Regions from separate parts of the Homo sapiens genome. Here region 2 is linked to region 1. Evidence: promoter capture Hi-C in human tissues and cell types (Jung and others, 2019). All regions are on one chromosome and are shown on one strand. Each heading gives the region's core, a stretch centred on a gene start or on the middle of the fragment in contact. The rest is flanking DNA. Distances are from core to core; before and after follow the strand shown.

Region 1 (5,449 bases), core at 870-3,369:
CATTTCTGACTTAAGATCTTTTCAACTTAAGGTATTTTCAGTTTATGGTGGGTTTATTGGAACATAACCCCTTTGTAAGTTAAGGAACATTTATATAGTCACATTAGGAGTGAGGGCTTCAGTATGAATTTTTGGGGGGGATGCAATTCAGTCCATACCAGTCATGATAAAATATGCAGTTATTTAAACCCTTAGAATAAACTCAAAATTCACCGCCATTATTCACTTTGGATGCTAATAACAGAATGTAGACATAGAGTAGCTGTTGCCCAGTTTCATGGTCTACTTGTCCCAGTCAACCTGAGGATAGTACAGCATAAATAGGTAAATTTGTGCTTGACCTTGTGATCCTACATATGGCAGGCTGTCTTAGTCCCTTTAGTGTTGCTAGAAAGGAATACCCAAAGCTGGATAATTTAGAAATAGAAAAGGTTTTTCGGCTTATGGTTCTGATGTCTGGAAAAGTTCAAGACTGAGCATCTGCATCTGATGGTAGCCTAAGACTGCTTCTACTCATGCCAGAAGGCAAAGGAGAGCTGGTGTGTGCAGAGATTACATGGCCAGAGAGGACGCAAAAGAAGAAAGGAAGTGCGACGTTCTTTTTAACCAGCTCTGGTGGAAATAAAGAGAACTCATTTACCCTCTCCCCAGGGAGGACATTAATCTATTCCTGAAGGAACCACCTCCATGACCCAACACTGCCCATTAGTCCCCACCTCCAACATTGGGGATCAAATTTCAACAGGAGGTTTAGGGGAACAAACATCTAAATTACAGCACAGGCCAACCACATGCATGCATTACCAATCACGTAAATAATTTTGAAGTTAAATGCAGAAAACTGCAAACTTTTGAGGCTGATATCCAGGGCCAGGATTAAAATAAAAAGTATTAATGCCTTAAACAGTATTTACTGACCATCTACCCTACTGCAAGGCCCTAGGGAGAAACTGAACAGACATGGTTACTGATTCAACGGAGTTTACAATCTAGGTAGACATACAGGCAAACCATTTCAATAGCTCGGATGGAGAAAACACCTGTGCTCCAAGGAAGGTACCTAACTGAGCAAGCTTCCCTGAGGAGCGATCCTAAACTGTGCCACAAAGATGGTTAAGAAGAGATGAGGCGGCTGGGCGTGGTGGCTCACGCCTGTAATCCCAGCACTTTGGGAGGCCGAGGCTGGCGAATCACGAGGTCAAGAGATCGAGACCATCCTGGTGAAACCCCGTCACTGCTAAAAATACAAAAACATTAGCTGGGCGTGGTGGTACATGCCTGTAATCCCAGCTACTCGGGAGGCTGAGGCAGGAGAATAGCTTGAACCCGGAGGCGGAGGTTGCAGTGAGCCGAGATCGTGCCACTGCACTCCACCCTGGCGACAGAGCGAAACTCGTTTCAAAAAAAAAAAAAAAAGAGGCAGGTTACGGCGCGGGGGCGGGGAAGGGGGCCTGCAGCACCGGCGAGGGGAAGAACCAACTTACTGATGCCTCAGCCAGTGGCTGGAGCCCTAAGAATGGACAGACCTGGCTCCGAAGGTCCTCTTCATAACACTACTGCCGCCAAGAATGTAAGCTGCCCAAGCACGAGGACACTTTTAGAGGGCCCTCAGACTCAGCTTCTTTTGGTCTGTGCCTCAAATTAAGCACATGTCTTACATTTCTCCCAGGTCCCAATTTTCAGGTCTGCTTTTCTTTGTTTTTCTTTGTCGCTCCCCGCTCCTAAGAACCTTCGGCTGGGATGACATTCTTCAGGTGCAGAAACCAGGGGGAAGCTCCCAGAGCAGTGGGGGCTGAACTCAGGACACAGTCATTTTTGCTGTTAAGTCTCTCCTGCGGCGCTGAGGAGGCAGGCTCAAAGTAACCAACCAGAGCAGCCGCAGAGGGAAAAGCTAAGACAGTTCTGGTCCGGCCCAGCGCTTCTCACCCTCTAGCTCTCTACTCTCCGCCGCGCAGCCTCCGCTCCCTCCACATCAGGCACGGCGCTTGATTGACATGAGGGCCCGCCCAATCCCAGTGCGGCAGAGACCGTTGTCGCGTCAGGGACCGGGGAAGGGGGCGACTGAACCTATCAGATTGGGTCCAGAGTGGGTTTCCTGCCCGCGCGGATCCGCCTGCCCACCGCGCGTGCCCCGCCTCTCTCCCAAGAGCTACGCGGCGGCGGCGGAGCGCAGGCCTCGTGCCGTTACGGCCATCACGGCGGCCGCAGTGGCGTCCTGGAGCCCTCCTCAGGTGAGCTGGAGCTGCCCGGCTCGGCAGCGGGAAGGTGAGACGGCCTTGTTGGCAGGCAGACACACACACACCCCCCTTCAGTCCGCTGTCCGTCCATACAGCCTGTTACTCGCTGCGTCGCTTCCTCTTCTCGCGCTGAGTTAGCCCCGGGGGCGCCGTCTGCAGGCTCGGAGCCGAGCCGGAGGGGGCGCGGAGGCTGCTCGGAGGGTCCAGACTTCTGCACCGGGATTCCGCGAGACCCTCGGGCCGTTGCCCCAGGGAGCGTGACCCCGCGGCCTCCTTGTCAGCCCCTGGAGCGCTGTGTCGGGCTGAGAGCCCGGGCGGCCGCCCGTGCGAGCCTGGGAGGTCGAGTGTGCGGCGCGCTGGTTGACTTGTCTGTTTTCTCATGAAAAAGTCCTTTTGCCAGCTGTGGCGTAATCCGAGGCCGGGAAGGTAGGGACGTGGTAGGAGGAAGGGCGCTCTCACCTCCAGCCCGAGAGGAGGGGAGGCGTCAGCCTGCGCGGTGCTGCGGGTGGACATCTTCGGGACGCGCCCTCTCCCCTCCCCCCACCCACCGGCCGTTTTCTAGTCTGGGGCTGTGACTTTAATGGTCTGGACCTGCTTCAGATTCGTACGCGAGTTGCTGGGGCTGTGAACTTTTGACTTGAGTTGTAATATGTTTGGTAAAACAAAAAACCATTTCGATAGGTTTTGTAACCTTTCTTCTGTATTAACATACAAGTTAAATTCGCCGTTAGAAGCTCAGGAAGCTGGGTTTTGTTCAGGGGTGAGGACGTAACCGTAGGAACGCTCTCGGTGTCAAACTGATGGACCCGGAGTCACCTGAAAATAATTATGCACGTTAGATTAGGTAAGAAGCCCTAGAAATTAGGAAAGAATTAGGTTAAAGAGAATTTCCTAACTCCTCTTTGGGTAGGGAGCAAAGCAGCTCAATGTCCTCCCAAAACGGGTGTTGCCAAAAGGTACTCATTTTTAAAATTTTACTTTGATAGACGTATGACAAACCAACTATAACGATTTCTTCAGCACCTGGAAACCAGTGTGCCTAGACTCTCAGCCTTCGGCGAGGTCACACAGTAAACGGAGAAATAACCTAAGAAGAAAGTTTTGTTTGGTAATTGTCAATAATATTCGTTCTTTTCTTTTTAAAACACTTAATTTTCTTGTGGGGGGTGGAGTCTGTGATATTCTTAAATAGGCATCCCATTCACAACTTGATAGTAATATGCACTGGTTGATAAATGGTGCTTTCTTTTCATCTTGACCACAAACTCTGAGACTTCTTTGGGAAAATTGTGATCTGTGGAAATTGGCTGTAATATCCATAAACATAGTTTGCAGAGTGTTCACATCTACTCAGCTGTTGGCTCATGTATTAAATTTTAAAATGTGTACTTATTTTTCTAGGCATTATCTTTTGTCCAGGTTTTGACAGTGCTTTCAGGTCCATCTAAATAAAATTTGAAACCTACGTGTAATGTTTTGTTCGATACTGAGGGAGTCCAGGCGGGGTAGCTCAAACCTGTAATCCCAGCACTTTGGGAGGCTGAGGCGGGCGGATCACGAGGTCAGGAGATTGAAACCACCCTAGCAGACACGGTGAAACCCCGTCTCTACTAAAAATACAAAAAAGTAGCCGGGCGTGGTGGCGGGCGCCTATAGTCCCAGCTACTCGGGAGGCTGAGGCAGGAGAATGGCGTGAACCCGGGAGGCGGAGCTTGCAGTGAGCCGAGATCGCGCCACTGCACTCCAGCCTGGGCGACAGAGCGAGACTCCGTCTCAAAAAAATAAATAAAATGTGTATTTATTTTTCTAGGCATTATCCTTTGTCCAGGTTTCTGCAGTGCTTTCAGGTCCATCTAAATAAAATTTGAAACCTACGTGTAATGTTGGCCGGGCTCGGTGGCTCACGCCTGTAATCCCAGCACTTTGGGAGGCCGAGGCAGGCGGATCACGAGGTCAGGAGATCGAGACCAGCCTGGCCAACACGGTGAAACCGCGTCTCTACTGAAAATACAAAAATTATCCGGGCGTGGTGGCACGCACCTGTAATCCCAGCTACTCGGGAGTCTGAGGCAGGAGAATTGCATGAACCCGGGAGTCGGAGGTTGCAGTGAGCCAAGATCGCCACTGCACTCCAGCCTGGCAACAGAGCAAGATTCCGTCACACACACACAAAAAAAAAACAGAAACAAAAAAAACCTATGTGTAATGTTTTGTTAGATACTGAGGGAGACCAGGCGGGGTAGTTCAAGCCTGTAATCCCAGCACTTGGGAGGCCAAGGCGGGAGGATAGCTGGAGGCCAGGAGTTTGAGATCAGCCTAAGCAATGTAGTGATACCCTGTCTCTAAATTAAGAAAATATAAAAAAATTTAAAAAGGAAAATAATAAAGAAAAGAGATACTTAGTGATACTTCATGGTTCTGGGTTTTTTTCTTTTCTTTTTTTTTTTTTTTTTTGAGACAGAGTCTCTGTTGCCCAGGCTGGAGTGCAGTGGCACGATCTTGGCTCACTGCAACCTCTGCCTCCCGGGTTCAATCGATTCTTGTGCCTCGGCCTCCTAAGTAGCTGGGACTACAGGTGTGTGCCACCATGCCTAGCTAATTTTTTTGTATATATATATATTTTTCTTTTTCTTTTGTTTGTTTTTTTTTTTGAGACGGAGTCTCACTCTGTTGCCCAGGCTGGAGTGCAGTGGCGGGATCTTGGCTCACTGCAACCTCTGCCTGCCGGGTTCAAGCAATTCTCTGCCTCAGCCTCCCCAGTAGCTGGGATTACAGGCGCCTGCCACCACGCCTGACTAATTTTTGTATTTTTAGTAGAGGCAGGGTTTCACCATCTTGGCCAGGCTGGTCTTGAACTCCTGACCTCGTGATCCACCTGCCTCGGCCTCCCAAAGTGCTGGGATTACAGGCATGAGCCACCACGCCCGGCCTGTATTTTTAGTAGAGACGGAGTTTCACCATGTTGGCAAGGCTGGTCTCGAACTCCTGACCTCAAGCAATCTGCCCACCTCCGCCTCCCAAAGTGCTGAGATTACAGGTGTGCGCCACCGTGGCTGGCCTATATTCATTTTTCAAAAATTTTCTAGAGTTTTACATTTTCATTGCTTTGTACTTTTACTTTGTCTTATTTTACTTTTTCACCATGTGTTTTTCAAAGCTGAAGGTATATTTGATGTGATTATTATAAATCACTTGTCAGGAAGACTTGACTT
Region 2 (5,150 bases), core at 1,685-4,184, 140 kb after region 1:
CCTGAGGCTTTGCTGAAGTTGCTTATAAGCTTAAGGAGATTTTGGGCTGAGACGATGGGGTTTTCTAAATATACAATCATGTCATCTGCAAACAGGAACAATTTGACTTCCTCATTTCCTAATTGAGTACCCTTTATTTCCTTCTCTTGCCTGCTTGGCCTGGCCAGAACTTCCAACACTATGTTGAATAGGAGTGGTGAGAGAGGGCATCCTTGTGCTGGTTTTTAAAAGGAATGCTTCCAGTTTTTGCCCATTCAGTATGATATTGGGTGTGGGTTTGTCATAAATAGCTCTTATTATTTTGAGTTACGTTCCATCAGTACCTAGTTTATTGAGAGTTTTTAGCATGAAGGGCTGTTGAATTTTGTCAAGGGCCTTTTCTGCATCTATTGAGATAATGGTGTGGTTTTTGTCTTTGGTTCTGTTTATGTGATGGATTATGTTTATTGATTTGTGTATGTTGAATCAGCCTTGCATCCCAGGGATGAAGCTGAGTTGATCGTGGTGGATAAGCTTTTTGATGTGCTGCTGGATTTGGTTTGCCAGTATTTTATTGAGAATTTTTGCATTGATATTCCTCAGGGATATTGGTCTAAAATTCTCTTTTTTGTGTGTATGTCTCTGCCAGGCTTTGATATCAGGATGATGCTGGCCTCATAAAATGAGTTAGGGAGGAATTCCCTCCTTTTCTATTGATTGGAATAGTTTCAGAAGGAATGGTACCAGCTCCTCTTTGTACCGCTGGTAGAATTCGGCTGTGAATCCGTCTGGTCCTGGACTTTTTTTGGTTGTTAGGCTATTAATTATTGCCTCAATTTTAGAGCCTGTTATTGATCTATTCAGAGATTCAACTTCTTCCTGGTTTAGTCTTGGGAGGGTGTATGTGTCCAGGAATTTATCCATTTCTTCTAGATTTTCTAGTTTATTTGCGTAGAGGTGTTTATAGTATTCTCTGATGGTAGTTTGTATTTCTGTGGGATCGGTGGTGATATCCCCTTTATCATTTTTTGTTGCGTCTATTTGATTCTTCTCTCTTTTCTTCTTTGTTAGTCTTGCTAGCAGTCTATCAGTTTTGTTGATCTTTTCAAAAAACCAGCTTCTGGATTCATTTATTTTTTGACGGGTTTTTTTGTGTGTCTCTCTCTTTCAGTTCTGCTCTCAACTTAGTTATTTCTTGCCTTCTTCTAGCTTTTGAATGTGTTTGCTCTTGCTTCTCTAGTTCTTTTAATTGTGATGTTAGGGTGTCAATTTTAGATCTTTCCTGCTTTCTCTTGTGAGCATTTAGTGCTATAAATTTCCCTCTGCACACTGCTTTAAATGTGTCCCGGAGATTCTGCTACGTTGTGTCTTTGTTGTCATTGGTTTCAAAGAACATTTTTATTTCTGCCTTCATTTCGTTATTTACCCAGTAGTCATTCAGGAGCAAGTTGTTCAGTTGCCATGTAGTTGTGTGGTTTTGAGTGAGTTTCTTAATCTTGAGTTCTAATTTGATTGCATTGTGGTCTGACAGACAGTTTGTTGTGATTTCTTTTCTTTTACTTGCTGAGGAGTGCTTTACTTCCATTTATGTGGTCAATTTTAGAATAAGTGCGATATGGTGCTGAGAAGAATGTGTATTCTATTGATTTGGGGTGGAGAGTTCTGTAGATGTCTATTAGGTCTGCTTGTTGCAGAGCTGAGTTCAGGTCCTGGATATCCTTGTTAACCTTCTGTCTCGTTGATCTGTCTCATATTGACAGTAGGCTGTTAAAGTCTCCCATTATTATTGTGTGGGAGTCTAAGTCTCTTTGTAGTTCTCTAAGGACTTGCTTTATGAATCTGGGTGCTCCTGTATTGGGTGCATACATATTTAGGATAGCTAACTCTTCTTGTTGGATTGATCCTTTTACTATTATGTAATGGCCTTCTTTGTCTCTTTTGATCTTTGTTGGTTTAACGTCTGTTTTATCAGAGACTAGGATTGCAACCCCTGCTTTTTTTTCGCTTTCCATTTGCTTGGTAGATCTTCCTCCATCCCTTTATTTTGAGCCTATGTGCATCTTTGCATGTCAGATGGGTCTCCTGAATACAGCACACTGATGGGTCTTGACTCTATCCAATTTGCCAGTCTGTGTCTTTTAATTGGGGCATTTAGCCCTTTTACATTTAAGGTTAATATTGTTATGTGTGAATTTGATCCTGTCATTATGATGTTAACTAGTTATTTTGCCCATTAGTTGATGCAGTTTCTTCCTAGCGTCGATGGTCTTTGCTATTTGGCATGTTTTTGCAGTGGCTGGTACTGGTTGTTCATCTCCATGTTTAGTGCTTCCTTCAGGAGCTGTTGTAAGGCAGGCCTGGTGGTGACAAAATCTCTCAGCATTTGCTTGGCTGTAAAGAATTTTATTTCTCTTTCACTTATGAAGCTTAGTTTGGCTGGATATGAAATTCTGGGTTGAAAATTCTTTTCTTTAAGAATGTTGAATATTGGCCACCACTCTCTTCCGGCTTGTAGAATTTCTGCCAAGAGATCTGCTGTTAGTCTGATGGGCTTCCCTTTGTGGGTAACTTGACCTTTCTTTCTGGCTGCCCTTAACACTTTTTCCTTCATTTCAACCTTGGTGAATCTGACAATTATGTGTCTTGGGGTTGCTCTTCTTGAGGAGTATCTTTGTGGTGTTCTCTGTATTTCCTGAATTTGCATGTTGGCCTGCCTTGCTAGGTTGGGGAAGTTCTCCTGGATAATATCCTGCAGAGTGTTTTCCAACTTGGTTCCATTCTCCCCAACACTTTCAGGCACACCAATCAGACATATATTTGGTCTTTTCACATAGTCCCATATTTCTTGGAGGCTTTGTTCACTTTTTTTTTTAACTCTTTTTTCTCTAACCTTGTTTTCTCACTTTATTTCATTAATATGATCTTCAGTGACTGATATCCTTTCTTCCACTTGATCAAATCATCTACTGAAGCTTGTGCATGCGTCATGAAGTTCTCGTGCCATGGTTTTCAGCTCCATCAGGTCATTTAAGGTCTTCTCTACACTGTTTATTCTAGTTAGCCATTTGTCTAATCTTTTTTCAAGGTTTTTAGCTTACTTGTGATGGGTTCCAACATCCTCCTTTAGCTTGGAGAATTTTGTTATTACCGACCTTCTGAAGCCTACTTCTGTCAACTCGTCAAAGTCATTCTCCATCCAGCTTTACTCCATTGCTGGCGAGGAGCTGTGATCCTTTGGAGGAGAAGAGGTGTTCTGATTTTTAGAATTTTCAGCTTTTCTGCTCTGGTTTCTCCCCATCTTTGTGGTTATATGTACCTTTCGTCTTGATGTTGGTGACTAGAGATGGGGTTTTGGTGTAGATGACCTTTTTGTTGATGTTGATGCTCTTCCTTTCTGTTTGTTAGTTTTCCTTCTAACAGTCAGGTCCCTCAGCTGCAGGTCTATTGGAGTTTGCTGGAGGTCCACTCCAGACCGTTTGCCTGGGTATCACCAGTGGGGGCTGTAGAACAGCAAATATTGCAGAACAGCAAATATTGCTGCCTGATCTTTCCTCTGGAAGCTTTGTCGCAGAGGGGCACCTGCCTGTATGAGGTGTCTGTCAGCCCCTACTGGGAGGTGTCTCCCAGTTAGGCTACACGGGGGTCAGTGACCCACTTGAAGAGGCAGTCTGTCTGTTCTCGGAGGTCAAATGCTGTGCTGGGAGAACCACTGCTCTCTTCAGAGCTGTCAGACAGGGACGTTTAAGTCTGCAGAAGTTGTCTGCTGCCTTTTGTTCAGCTATGCCCTGTCCATAGAGGTGGAGTCTAGAGGCAGTAGGCATTGTTGAGCTGTGGTGGGCTCCGCCAAGTTCGAGCTTCCTGGCTGCTTTGTTTACCTACTCAAGCCTCAGCAATGGCAGATGCCCCTCCCCAAGCCAGGCTGCCACCTCGCAGATTGATCTCAGACTGCTGCGCTAGCAGTGAGCAAGGCTCCATGGGCATGAGACCTGCCGAGCCAGGCACGAGAGAGAATCACCTTGTCTGCCAGTTGCTAAGACCTTGGGAAAAGTACAGTATTTGGGTGGGAGTGCCCCATTTTTCCAGGTAGTCTGTCACGGCTTCCCTTGGCTAGGAAAGGGAAATCCCCTGGCCCCTTGTGCTTCCCGGGTAAGGCGATGCCCTGCCCTGCTTCAGCTCGCCCTCTGTGGGCTGCACCGACTGTCCAACCAGTCCCAATGAGATGAACCAGGTACCTCAGTTGGAAATGCAGAAATCACCCATCTTCTGCATGGCTCACACTGGGGGCTGCAGACTGGAGTGTTTCTATTCAGCCATCTTGGAACGCAATCCCACCAAGTAAAAATCTAAAGCAAAACTATATATGGAAGGAAAATTATATTAATTCTGCCCAGTATATAGTCTCTGTTTAAAAATATAATTTATTTTCTTTGTCTTGCACCTGTATTTGCTTCATGGGAATGGGTGCTTTGGTGCTGAAGGGTCTCAGTTTCCTTTCTGTGACTCACTTTATTCTTTCTCTTCTTGCTGTCACATTCTGCTGTAATGTAGGTAGCAAGCATAAAGATGGTCCCAAATTAGTAATTCTTCAATGAACCGTCCAAGTATGACCTTGCATGCTTCATAGAAAGTGGAGTTTGTGAACTCAGATGCCTCTGAGTCCACACAGGCTCTGGAAAGAAGAAAAAAAAGCAAAAGGAAAGAACTTGCAGTGCAATGAATGTAACTCAATAGGGAGGGGGATGGGGATCATGGCAAATATGTTTCATCTTCTCAGCGACAGCAGGTTGCTACCAAGAGGAAGTGTGAGCCAGTGCTGCCAGATCTCCAAGTTTTAAATGAGAAGCCCAGAAATCTAGATTTTTATGAGAAATCTCTTGATTTTTAAATGTTGAAAACTGATTCCGATTTTATAAAATATGCTGAGCTTTGCTTGAAAATTAGTTCTAAACTGTGGGACCACAGTTTTGCACCTTCCAAAATTCTGAGATTATGATGTTTGTTTTACATTAATGTGCTAGAACTGCACTGTCTAATACAGTAGCCACTAGTCATATCTGTTAGACAGTAGAAATGTGGCTCGTCCAAATTGAGATGTATTTTAAATATAAAATATGGAATGGATTTTAAAGGCAGAATAAAACAAGAATATAAAATATTTCAGTCATTTTTTA

What was found. The method cuts DNA at HindIII sites, captures the fragments that hold promoters and counts their contacts. A contact is called where the count stands out against the background at its distance.
Region 2: a contact is called between a fragment that was not itself captured here and the fragment with the promoter of NCK1 in region 1, in 1 of the 25 tissues and cell types used here (H1 embryonic stem cells).

What each region holds. Positions count from the first base shown.
Region 1 is chr3:136,860,089-136,865,537 of GRCh38, forward strand. NCK1 (NCK adaptor protein 1) reads left to right here and starts at 2,120. Exons shown (of 4, transcript NM_001291999.2): 1 at 2,120-2,265. NCK1-DT (NCK1 divergent transcript) reads right to left here and starts at 1,975. Exons shown (of 3, transcript NR_110177.1): 1 at 1,659-1,975. RefSeq lists enhancers at 1,049-1,098, 1,659-1,718, 2,779-2,858, 2,869-2,988 and a silencer at 2,079-2,138. The HindIII fragment of the contact is 14,507 bases long and covers 483-5,449 here.
Region 2 is chr3:137,003,621-137,008,770 of GRCh38, forward strand. The region is part of intron 6 of IL20RB (interleukin 20 receptor subunit beta); the gene reads left to right. Among named protein-coding and RNA genes, the nearest start is that of IL20RB-AS1, 24 kb to the left of the region's middle. RefSeq lists an enhancer at 3,441-3,942. The HindIII fragment of the contact is 5,327 bases long and covers 272-5,150 here.